Regions from separate parts of the Homo sapiens genome. Here region 1 is linked to region 2. Evidence: promoter capture Hi-C in human tissues and cell types (Jung and others, 2019). All regions are on one chromosome and are shown on one strand. The core of a region is centred on a gene start or on the middle of the fragment in contact, and the rest is flanking DNA. Distances in the headings are between cores, read along the strand shown. Region 1 has its middle 20 kb from the start of MRGPRX3. Region 2 holds the start of SAA2 (serum amyloid A2).

Region 1 (5,818 bases), core at 438-2,937, 97 kb before region 2:
GGAGAATGTGGGTAGGTTATATATAAATGCTATGCCATTTTCTATAAGGAAACTGAACATCTGGAGATTGTGGTGCATGCAGGGGTCCAAGAATGAATTGCCTGTAATGCCCAGGAATGAATGTATCTTAGATATAAGTTGGAGGCTTCAAGGCATCATACATTAAGACTCCAAAAACTGCTGCTTCCCAGTCCATAGAGTGGAGTCCTCATTCTTTGTGGTCTTACTGGTTCCCACCCACATCAGCATTCTAGCCTGATGGAAAAAGAAAGAGGGAAAGGGGAGCCTGTACTTCTTCCATTGATCCCACGAGCCCGGACTTCCTTACATCACATCTGCTCACCTTCCACTGACAAGAACCTGGTCTTATGATGTCATCCAGCATCAAGGAAAACTGGGACATGTGTCCTTGTGCTGCTCTTAAATGCTCAGAATTGTTATGTCACTGAAGAGGAGAATGGAGATTGGGGCAACTTGGCAGTCTCTGAAACCCTTGATTATCTCTGAGATTTTTTGCTCACATCAAGGTTTTTCAGGAGCTCCTCAGAAATAATGAATGATGGGGCAGAGAACAGTACATAAGTCTCATACAGGGATGTTGACATGGGGCCTGCTCTTTGTGATATTGGAAAAACAAGTCTGACTCTTGTAGCCTCAACTCCTTCTTATGTCAAATGAGAATAGTACAATAGATAGTCTTTAAGGAACACATGCTGTATTAGTCTGTTCTCACACTGCTATAAATATACTACCTGAGACTGAGTAAGTTACAAAGAAGAGAGATTTAATTGACTCACAGTTCCACATGATTTGGGAGGTCTCAGGAAAATTACAGTCATGAAGGAAGGTGAAAGGGAAGCAAGTCATGCCTTACATGGCAGCAGGAGAGAGAAAGAGAGAGAGAGAGAGAATGGGAAAGTGCCAGACACTGAAACAACCAGAACTCGTAAGAACTCACTTGCTATCATGGGAACAGCAAGGGGGAAATCCTGCCCCATGATCCAATCATGTCCAACCAGCTCCCTCCCTCCACACATGAGGATTACAACTCAAGATGAGATTGGGTAGGGACACAGAGCCAAACCATATCACATGCTAAATGTTGGTGATACTACAGTGAACAAAAACAGGCATGGCTTACTCCCTATGGAGCTTCAGGTTTAATGAGGAAGACAAATGTTTCAAATGTTAAATACGGTATATCAAATATATACCCTAAATATAGATGCACAAACTGTTAAGTGCCCTGAGTGGGGATCACAGTTTTCCTTCCATTTCCCTTTCTGGCCCAAGGCTGTGGCAGCTTGTTTCTCTAAGACAGCTCAGGATGGATGCACTCACTTTTGATATCTCTCTGTACACCTGAGGAAGGATGCATTTTGTTTCCACTTGGATGCTTTCTACGCCTGTGGCTCCTCAGGATTCCAGAGGAAAGCTTGACTTCATGAGGAAGGAAAGGGTCTCTGATTTCCTTATTGTGCTCCTAATTGGTTTCCCTTCACTCTCATTTGTTAGATATTAGGTTGGTTTCTTATTGTCTCCAGAGTTTGCTTACGTTACTTTTTTCAGTCCACAGTTTTGACTACCATCTTGGATTTATATTGGGAATTACAATGTCCTCTGCTTTCCCACACAGTGATGTGTAAGCAACACACAGTGGTGCTGGATCCAAAGGGTTGGCAAAAAAGATAAACTCTGAGGCAGCCCTGCTGGGTTCTAATCCACATCGTGTGAGACTAAGAAATAATTACACATCCTTTATGTCTTCCTTTGTCATCTCCTGTAAAATGGGAATATTACTAATTCTTCTTACTTCCTAGGCTCTTGAAAAGATTAAGAGGGATAATACCTAATAAATACTCAACTGGTTACTGTTATTCACCCAGATGGAAGCTAGTCCTCTTTCTTCAGTTAAAATCTGCATGAGCATGTCTCTTTACATTCCAAGCCCTGAAATTTTTCTGGTTCCCCTCAGGAACTCCTCTGAAACAAAAGTTTGCATTAGCAAAAGAAATTCTACCCAAGATCTGGGAGAGAGAATGAAGTAGGTTTGTGTTATGCACACCCAGCACACCACTTAGAAGTTCTCCAGGTCTATTTCCACATTTCAATTGCCTCCTTCAGTGACAATCAGACCTCACGCTCACTTACTTTTTCCTCCTGTATATTGCTGAGCAATTCAGCTCAGACCCACACCCTACCTCAACGCTGTATACCAAAATGCTTCTAGGTGCTCAGCAAAGCCAACACCGAGTCCTCATTTCAAAGTCACATCAGTGATCAGATATTTAGGCTCACATAGGTAATTCTTTTTAACACAGACAGAGCTGTCCACAAATAGAATTCTGATGAATGAAATTTTCTTCATCTTATGCATATATGTGTTCTGATACCTTTAATTGTGCTTTCATTTTTATTTTCTATTTAACTCAAATCTGCCACTACCATTAGGCTCCTCATTCATGCATTCACTCACTGAATAAATGTTTGTGGAGAATATAGTGTGCCTTACATGGAGCTAGGCACTGGGAATATAAAAAGTGGTGCTCCTTCCTGGGGATTAGCCCAAGCAGGTTCTTGGCTTTGTACAGAAAAGAATTCAAGGGTAAGCCAGTGGTGTTAGATAGCAAGTTTTATTAAAGCAGCAGAGGTACTGCTCCTTGCCAAGCAGGGCTACCCCACAAACAGTGTGTCCAGAGTAGCAGCTCAGGGGCAGTTCTGCAGTCATATTTATGCCCACTTTTAGTGATACACAAATTAAGGGGCAGTTTATGCAGAAATTTTTAGGATAAGAGTGGTAACTTCCAGGTCATGAGGTAGTTGCCATGGAAAAAAGTGATAATTTCTAGATGTCACCATGGCCATAGTAAACTGACATGGCACACTGGTGGGCATTCTTATGGAAAACTGCTTCCACCCAGCCCTGTTTTAGTTAGTCCTCAATCTGGTCCAATGTCAGAGTCCTCACCTCCAGAGTTGAGTCACACCTCCTACCTCAGTGGCATACTGGTGGCCATGTCCTGTGGAAAGCTGCTTTCACCCTGGCCTTGTTTTAGCTAGTCTTCAATTTGGTCTGATGTCTAAGTCCCTGGCTCCAGAATCAAGTCCCACCTCTTACCTCACTGTCTTCAGTGACTGACATGCTGAGCCCTTTCTAGCCTACCAGGCCCAGCCATCCTTACATCTGTCCCAGCAAAACGCTACATTCCTTTCATGTCCCTTAATCATGATCTTTTTCCTCCATGGATACACCACTGTTAGTCATGGAGGTGTCAGAGTCACCTTTTTGTCTTTCTGAATTCCTGCACCTGAGAAAATTTCTGGCCCAGTCCAGAGTAATGCTCAGGCCCATAGCCCTAGCTGGTTGAATGGAGAGGTTTTGATCAAAGAATATTTCCATGTGAGTAGAGAACCTTGTTGCAATAGAGAGAGCCCAGGCTTTAGTGTCAGCAAGAACTGGTTTGAAACCAGATCCAAGGCCTCCTGATATTTTAATTGGTTATTCTCCATATGCCCCAATTTTTCTCTTCTGAAAAATGGGAACAGTAATTCACACATTGCAGGGTGGTCTTGAGAATTAGAGATCACACAGCTGGAGCTCAAATCTCCTTGCCTTTCCCTAGGCACCAGTGAAGGGTTTTGGAGCGTGGATCCAACCATCCCAGTTTGGAGGACAAAACTCACATCAATGAATGGAAATGAAAAGAACCTTTCTTGAACTTGTGACTTGGAGACCCTGATCCCAAACTTACTGACGTGCATCATTGCCCTGGATGGGCTGGCAGGAAACGCGGTTGTGCTCTGGCTCCTGGGCTTCCATGTGCCCAAGAACACATTCTCTATCTACATGCTCAACCTGGCCAGACGGACTACCTCTTCCTCAGCGGCCACATTATACATTCCCCGATGTAATTCATCAGCACTTTCTCTTCCATCTCCATCTACTTTCCTAGCTTCTTCAATGCTGTGATGATCCTTTCCTACCTTGCAGGGCTGAGCATGCTAAGCACCATCAGCATCAAACACTGCATATCTGCCCTGTGGCCCATCTGGTACCACTGCCGTCGCCCCACACACCTGTCAGCAGTCCTGTGTGCCCTGCTCTGGGCCCCGTCCCTGCTGCTTGCCTTCCTGGAAGGTTACTACTGTGCTTTTCTGTTTAAGATTGGGGACTACAGTTGGTTTCAGACATTTGATTTCATCACAGGCACGTGGCTGATTTTTAAATTTGTGGTTCTCTGTGGGTCCAACCTGGTTCTGCTAGTCAGGATCCTCTGTGGCTCCCAGCAGATGCCACTGAGCGGGCTGTAGATGACCATCTTGCTCACAGTGCTGGTGTTTCTCCTATGCAGCCTGCCCCTTGGCATTCAGTGATTCCTGTTATTCTGGACTGAAAAAACTTTCATGTCTTCCTTTGTCATGTTCTTCCAGTTTCAGTTGTCTGGTCCTCTCTTAAAGCAGTGCCAACCCCATCATTTACTTCTTCTTGGGCTCCTTCAGGCAGCGTCAAAATAGGCAGACCCTCAAGCTGGTTCTCCAGAGGGCTCTGCAGGACATGCCTAGGATAGATCACAGAGAAGGATACTTTGCTCAGGGAAAGCTGGAGCTGTCGGGAAGTGGATTGGGGCAGCAATTTTCATCTGATGCAATGAATCTCTGTCCAAAACCACGCAACTCTTCTTTATCATTGTTTCCTTCCTGATAATATTGAAAAAGATTCCTTATTTATCTCTCAGTCTATGTTCCCCTGAAAATCATGTTCTGTTCTGAGATTGGAGTTGGGGACGTTGCTGCAGGTGGAAAGCTCAATTCTGAATAAGTGAGCTCTCTATCTTTCAATCTCACTGAATTCTCGGGTGTTAGGGAGAATAATGTCCTTGGAGACAGACTCTCTGCCTGCATAAAAATAGTCTAGGAAATTGGTTTATAGAATAAGGAAATTTAAAAAGTCAATTTTGTACAATTGTACAATGTGTTTGTGTTTTAAGCTAAGTGTTATTACATAAGAGAAAAAATTAAAAATTAGAAAGTTCATAAAGTAAAATAGTTACAGTAAACTAAGTTTAATTTATTATTGAGGAAAGAAAAATTTTTAATAAATTTAGTGTGGCCTAAATGTACACTGTTTATAAAGTCTGCAGTAGTGTACAGTAATATCCTAGGCCTTCACATTCACCCACCACTCACTGACTCACCCAGAGTAACTCACTGTCCTGCAAGCTCCATTCGTGGTAAGGGCCCTATACAGGAATATCATTTTTTAATCTTTAGTACCACACTTTTAGTGTACCTGTTCTATGTTTAGATGTATTTAGAACACAAATACTTACATTGTGCTATAACTGCCTACATTATTCAGTACAGTTATTGCTGTGTAGGTTTGTAACTTAGAAGCAATAGGCCATAGAATGTAGCCTATGCATATAACAGGCTATACTATCTAGATTTGTCTAAGGACATTCTATGATGTTCACACAACAATGAGATCGCCTAAGGATGCATTTCTCAGAATGTATCCCTGTTGTTAAGTGAAGCATGCTGTGCCTGATTTATCAAAATACAATGTAAATCAATGAAATACGAGTATGAAAGTAAAAGTGTAGGTTCAGTGAAAACTAATGTGCATGCTAAAAGGAGCAGTAAAGGCTGGATTCAAAATTATTGTTATCGAATTTTAGCTGTGAGCCTGACAACTGTTCTGCACTGAAAAAATTTAACAATATTGAGAAACATCTTCCTGCAGAATTTCTTTCATATGATGCTATGATCTCCATTTTAATAAAGTCAAACTGCAAGTGATAGACAATGCTTGATGGAT
Region 2 (6,577 bases), core at 1,624-4,123:
GAAGAGGAGGGACCACAGCCTCTAACTTCTCCACAAGGAGCTCGTCTCCCTCCTGACTGTCCAAGGCAGGCAAGCTCTGCTCACCCAGCCCTAACGTCCCAGGAGCTCCAGTTACCTGATCACTTCTGCAGCCCAGGCACCCCCAGGTCCCCTTTTGGCAGCATCATAGTTCCCCCGAGCATGGAAGTATTTGTCTGAGCCGATGTAATTGGCTTCTCTCATGTCAGAGTAGGCTCTCCACATGTCCCGAGCCCCTGGAAAGGAAAGGAAAGGCAGAAGGGACATCAGGAGAACATAAAGACTCCAACAACACCTTAGAGGGGAATGAAAGAAGGACAAATCTTCCACTGACTTCAAGCTTTCAGCCTGTGATCATAGCAGCCTTGGATACCATGGGTTGAGAAGCACATTCCTTTATCCTAGTTGGCTTCTTCAAGTGCCCTGGTGAAGAGCCACTGCTATAGAATGAAGCTGCCTATGATAAGATCCAGGAGTGTATATGAATGAGGTGGTGACATGGAATACTGATGCTGAGAAAGGTGGCAGACACAGAGTACTTCTGCCCTGACTACTAAAGTATATATTCTTGCAAATGGAATACATGTCATTGTGACCTGAGTTCCAGTGACTGTTAGGAGCATAAAAGTCCCTAAACACTTTCTCAGTAGGCTGTACTGATACTGTGGGTTGCTTGAGGAAGCAATAGAGCAGCGGTTCTCCGCCGTGGTTGCACTTTCTTTTTCTTTTTTATTTTTTTAGACGGAGTCTCACTCTGTCACCCAGGCTGGAGCACACTGGAGCAATGTAACTCACTACAACTTCCGCTTCCCGGGTTCAAGTGATTTTCCTGCTTCAGCCTCCTGAGTAGCTGGGATTACAGGTGCCTGCCACCACGCCTGGCTACATTTTCATATTTTTAGTAGACACAGGGTTTCACCATGTTGGCCAGGCTGCTCCGGAACTCATGACCTCAAGTGATTCATCCACCTTGGCCTCCCAAAGTGCTGGAATTACAGGCGTGAGCCTTGGCTGCACTTTCTAATCACCCAGAGAGAAACTGAAAGTCCCAGTGCCCAGGCCACACCCCAGGCCAGTTTCTGCAGACTCTGCTGGGGAGTTGAAGGCATGGGTAGTTCAGGTGATGCCAAGGTGTGTCTGAGATTCATAACCATCAACCTCTGGGAGGTGGTCAGTGATGCGTCTACCTGGCAAGAGCCCTGACCTCAAGCACAGCCGGGCTCAAACCTCTGCCCTGCCACCTGCTGACTGGCAGTAAGTCCCTGGGCATTGGCCTCAGCTGCTCTAAGTCTCAGCTTTCTCACCTTCACAGAAGGGATGCCTGCCTCACAGAGTCATTCTGAAACTAGATGAGAAAATGCTGTGGTCCTTGTGGGGGCTTGAGGCACGTTAGTTCCCAGCTCTTGTCAAGAAGGCTGGAGAAGGAAGAATGGAAACAGAACAAACCAGGAAGGGAGCCCCTGACAGAGCGAGGCTAAAGAGCCCTGTACATTATCCAACTAGGAAATCGAAGGAGGAAGGAGAAAGAAGACAGAAGAGTCAACAGCCTTAGTCATACTCCTATGCGATTTATGCTGAGGGACATTTTATACCAATTGCAGGCCTTATTTTGCATCTTCTACTCAAAACAAACAGCTCAGGTGCTCCTGGAAAGGATGATTGTTCTTTCTCTGAGTAACTGACAACAATCCTCGACTCTCTAATCTGTTTAGCAGCTCCCCAGGCACATTGGGCAGCACAACCTAAGGCAGCGGCTCAAATCTTAAGGAAGCCCAAAAATACCCCGTGTGCGTTGTTACTGGATGCCCCGTCCCTTACGGCTCAGGAGATGTGTTTTTGATACACCTTGCAGCGGCTTCTGAAATGTGATCCATCCACTTAACACATCCTGAGAAGCTGCACTACGGGGAAAGGGGATATTCCCAGCAGCTCTGAAAGACTCGAGACAGGCAACCCAGCAAACCCTAGTTCCTGGCAGGCCTCAGCAACGCAGACACTAGCAACTCTGTGGTTCAAAAGCAGCCTTCCGAAAGCATCATTTTCCCCAGTTTATCAGGTCCAGGGCGATGTTTCTCTTCAGAAATCCTGCAAACCTTCTGAAGCCTTACCATCAAAAGCCTCGCCAAGGAACGAAAAGAAGCTTCGGCTGCTGACACTCAGGACCAAGGAGCAGAAAACCAGGCCCGTGAGAAGCTTCATGGTGCTGAAATGAAAGGAGAAGTCAGGCAGTCGCCCACAAGACTGGCACAGCTTCCCTTGGGACTTATATTCCGACGAGAGCCTGGTTATTTCCACTGGATCTTATTAGAGTCTCAGTGGCTCATCTAGGAAACCTTGCAGCAGGACCTCACTCAGAGCCAGAAGCCCTCGGTTCTGAACCCATCAGCCCTGAAGCCTGACTGCATAAGAGGATGCCAATGTGGCACTGATGGAGGAAGGCAGGAGTTACCACCAGACTGTCACTCCCTCAAGTAGCCTATAATTCCCCATAACGCATTTACCGTGTGTTCCCTCTGCCCCGCACAGAACTCAACATGGGATAAACACAAAGCAGGATCATTATTTTTTATTCTTAAAGCCTTTAGCACCTGGTATTCCCAGGTGTTCTCCCATCCAAGTACTACCAGGCCCGACCCTGCTTACCTCTCTAGATCAGAGGAGATAAGACACCTTCAGAATGGTATGGCTGTATGCCCCAGGATAACTATTTTTTTTAAAGGAAATGATAATCTTGTTGGGAAAGAGAAAACAGAGTAAGTTTTAAAAATCACTCCTTGGTGTGCTCCTCACCTGATCTGTGCTGTAGCTGAGCTGCGGGTCCCTGTCTGCCAGGGAGAGGTGGCTGCTATTTATAGTGAGCCTTGCTGGTCTCTTGGGAGGGAAGAAAAGCTGGATGTGGTCCCTGGGGAAAGTCCCTGCAGGTCATTTCCCCTACAAACTGGTCTAAGACAAGTTCCTGGATGCCGGTGGTTTCTTCATCCCGGGTCATTTATCCCAGTTGTGTAACCTATGGGAACAAGAGAGGTTTGCTGTGCCTTGGCAATGGACAGGGTGCTAGATCAGCTCTGCTCCTCAGCATTGGGGGAAGTGCAGCTGCAGAGATGCCAGTGGGAGCCCCGTGATGGCGGCACCTGGGCTGCTGGAAGGTGTGGAGTGAGGGCAGCTCTTCAGCCAGCTCCTGACTATACCGGTCATTTCCTCAGGATGGGCCCTGCTGGGCCACATGGCAGATGACCCTGACTGAAATCCCTGTGAGTTCATGTCTAAAGCTTTAAGCTTTAAAACGGACAGCCTACCCCTGCCACATCTCATGTGTGCCCTGGAAGCCTCCTTCCACCCCTCTGGATGTCCTGATATTTCTCAGCACAGAAAATCTCTGCTCCGCTGGCTTAGCCAATTTGGAAATGCTTTTTCTAAGTTGGCTCCTGAGCCAAGGACAATGTAGAGAGGGGGACTTTCTGCTGCCCCAGCCTAGTCCTGGAGCCCCACCTTGGGAGAATGAGAGTGTGGTGCGTTAAATAGGCAGCCCAGCTGGGGACGTGCCCAGCATCCAGGCAGGGAAGGGTGGGAGAGCTCTTGGTCTGCTGTATTATCACGGAGGGGTGCAGGGGGCATGCAGATCACTCTCTCATGAGAACATCAACAGGGTCAGATTAGCTCTGCAGAGGCTTATGGAGGAGCATGGTGGCCAGAGATGGGTCAGTACCAGAGCCCAGGGGGGCTGAGGCCAGGACATGCAGAGAGGCTGGTGGACATAGCAGCAACTCTGGTTTCTTCTTCTCCAGTCCATGTTCATACCCTGAGGGCTAGGCATTTGTAATAACAAACAAACAAGCAATTTAGAAATGGGCCAGGCATGGTGGCATGTGCCTATAGTCCCAGCTACTTGGGAGGCCAAGGCAGGAGGCCTGCTTGAACCCAGAAATTTGAGGCCAGCCTGGGCAACACAGCAAGATTATCTTAAAAAATTTTTTTTAATCTCTGAGAAATGGGTAGGGCCAGGAAGTAAAGGATGGCCAAATACTCCATAAGCAGCAAATGCGTGGCTCCAATGTGAACAATGATATTATAGACTCTGTTCTGAGACCTATGCATTGACACCTCCACCTCCCCCACTACATCTTGCCACCTTAAAACCACTGAGAGTGGTACCTGCTGGAATGGGTCCACACACACAGTCACACATATTTTAGGCAGGGTAGTTGACATCCCCAGGGAAAAAGAGCTCACAGAGAGAGGCTGAATGTTTCCAACTGGGTAGCAGTAATAGTACATCATGCTGTACATGGTACAGCACAGATCAGGTGAAAATAATAGCACATCGTGATTAACCAGGGCTTATTCCAGGGAGTCAAGAAGAGTTTCATATCAGAAAAATCTATCTTTGTAATTCACTATACCAGTAATCAAAGAAAAGGATTGTACATTTATTTTACTAGATGCAGAAAATGAATTTCATAATTGTCAACATCTACTGATGATAAGGAAAATGTATAACAAAATAAAGAGACCATTTCTGACTTGAGAAAGGATAAATACCAATATGTTATAGCAACAGTTCTCAAACTGTTTTCCAGGGAACCCTAAGAATCCCTCCTTAGGGAGGCTTTGATCTCAAAATTATTTTTAGAATAGTGCTAACACACTATTTTCATGTTTCAGTCTCATTTTCTCATGAGTACACACAATATGACAAGTTAGTTGATATGAGTGTGGATTTCCACATGGTAACTGACTTTTCAGAAGCTACCACTTGTTGAGTTTGGTATAATATAGAATAGCCACAATTATCTAAAAATACCATTAAAATACACTCCCCCATTTCAACTATATATCTGTGTGAGGCTGAATTTTCTTCATATACTCCAACCTAAATAACATATTAAAACAGGTTGGATGATGAATCAGATAGGAAAATCCAGCTATGAAAAAAAAATCAGACATGAAAAATTTTCAAAAGGGTAAAACCATAGTACTCTTCTTACTTTTTTTCTTTTGGAAGATGGTTATTTTTCATAAAAATATATTATTTATGTTAACATATAGAAGATGGATAATTTTTTGAAGAATTGATAAATGTTTAAATTTTTTCTTTCTATTATGGTAAATACTGATGAATAGAGTCCCCATAAATAAAAGTTCTTTGGGGTATTCAATAATTTTTAATAGTGTAATGGGATCCTGAGACCAAAAGGTTTGAGAATCATTGCTCTACAGCAAACATTATGTGTAATTAAGACACTTCAGGTGCATTCTCAAGAAGACCAATAAAGAGGCCACAATGGCAGGCGTGGTGGCTCACACTTGTAATCCAAGAACTTAGAGAGGACGAGGCAGGTGGATCACTGGAGGTCAGGAATTCTCAACCAGCCTGGCCAACATGGTGAAACCCTGTCTCTACTAAAAGTACAAAAATTAGTCGGGTGTAGTGGCAGGTACCTGTAATCCCAAGTACTTGGGGGGTTGAGGCAGGAGAATCACTTGAAGCCGGGAGGTGGAGGCTGCAGTGAGCCGAGATCGTGCCACTGCACTCCAGCCTGGGCAACGGAGTGAGACTTCATCATGGAAAAAAAAACAAAGAGGCCAGGATGTCTGGTTGTTACTGCCACTGTTTCACATATCCCTGAAGGACCTGCCCAATGCTAAAGAAACACAAGGAAGGTAAGAGGTGAAAGAGAAGAAATGAAACTATCATTGTTTGAAGATGACACCATCTTTTACATAGAAAACCTGTTAGAATCAAATGGCAAGCTATTAGAACTACTAAGAGAATTCAGTGAGGCTGCTGTATTCATGGCAAAATTTTAACAATTGATAGCATTTCTCTGCAACATTCCTTAATAGTTATAAAATACAGCACAAAGTAGTACCAAAAATATTAACTATCTAGGAAATAACCTCTTACAGAGAAAATTTAGTCTGTTAAAGGATAAACAGTGGCAATGTACGTCATGTCCACAGAGATTATATTTTAGCTTAGCAAAGATACCAATTCTCCCAAATTTATTTATAAATTAAATGCAATGTGAATCAAAATTTCCCACTGGAATTTTTATCAGGAAGGCAACAAATTCTTTCTTTCTTTCTTTCTTTCTTTCTTTATTTATTTATTTATTTATTTATTTATTTATTTCCTTCCTTCCTTCCTTCCTTCCTTCCTTCCTTTCTTTCTTTCTTTCTTTCTTTCTTTCTTTCTTTCTCTCTCTCTTTCTCTCTCCCCCCCTCTCTCTCTCTCTGTCTCTCTCTCTCTCTCTTTCTTTCTTTCTTTCTTTCTTTCTTTTTAAGACAAAGTCTGGCTCTGTCACCCAGGCTGCAGTGCAGTGATACAATCTCAGCTCACTGAAACCTCAACCTCTCCGGCATCAGGTGAACCTCCCACCTCAGCCCCCCGAGTAGCTGGGACTACAGGTGCACACCACTGGGCCTAGATAACTTTTTGTATTTATTGTAAATAAACACAAAAAATAAATATTTTGCTCAGGTTGGTCTGGAACTCCTGGGCTCAAGCAATCCGCCTGCCTTGGCCTCCCAAAGTGCTAGAATTACAGTTGTGAGCCAC

What was found. The method cuts DNA at HindIII sites, captures the fragments that hold promoters and counts their contacts. A contact is called where the count stands out against the background at its distance.
Region 1: a fragment that was not itself captured here is called in contact with the fragment with the promoter of SAA2 in region 2 in 3 of the 25 tissues and cell types used here (H1 embryonic stem cells, bladder and liver).

What each region holds. Positions count from the first base shown.
Region 1 is chr11:18,149,631-18,155,448 of GRCh38, forward strand. It overlaps the pseudogene MRGPRX12P. Among named protein-coding and RNA genes, the nearest start is that of MRGPRX3, 20 kb to the left of the region's middle. The HindIII fragment of the contact is 6,709 bases long and covers 1-5,042 here.
Region 2 is chr11:18,245,795-18,252,371 of GRCh38, forward strand. It overlaps SAA2 (serum amyloid A2), which reads right to left and starts at 2,874. Exons shown (of 4, transcript NM_030754.5): 1 at 2,809-2,874; 2 at 2,127-2,221; 3 at 116-254. The coding sequence starts at 2,217. SAA2-SAA4 (SAA2-SAA4 readthrough) reads right to left here and starts at 2,874. Exons shown (of 6, transcript NM_001199744.2): 1 at 2,809-2,874; 2 at 2,127-2,221; 3 at 116-254. The coding sequence starts at 2,217. It also overlaps the pseudogene RNA5SP333. The HindIII fragment of the contact is 6,944 bases long and covers 1,259-6,577 here.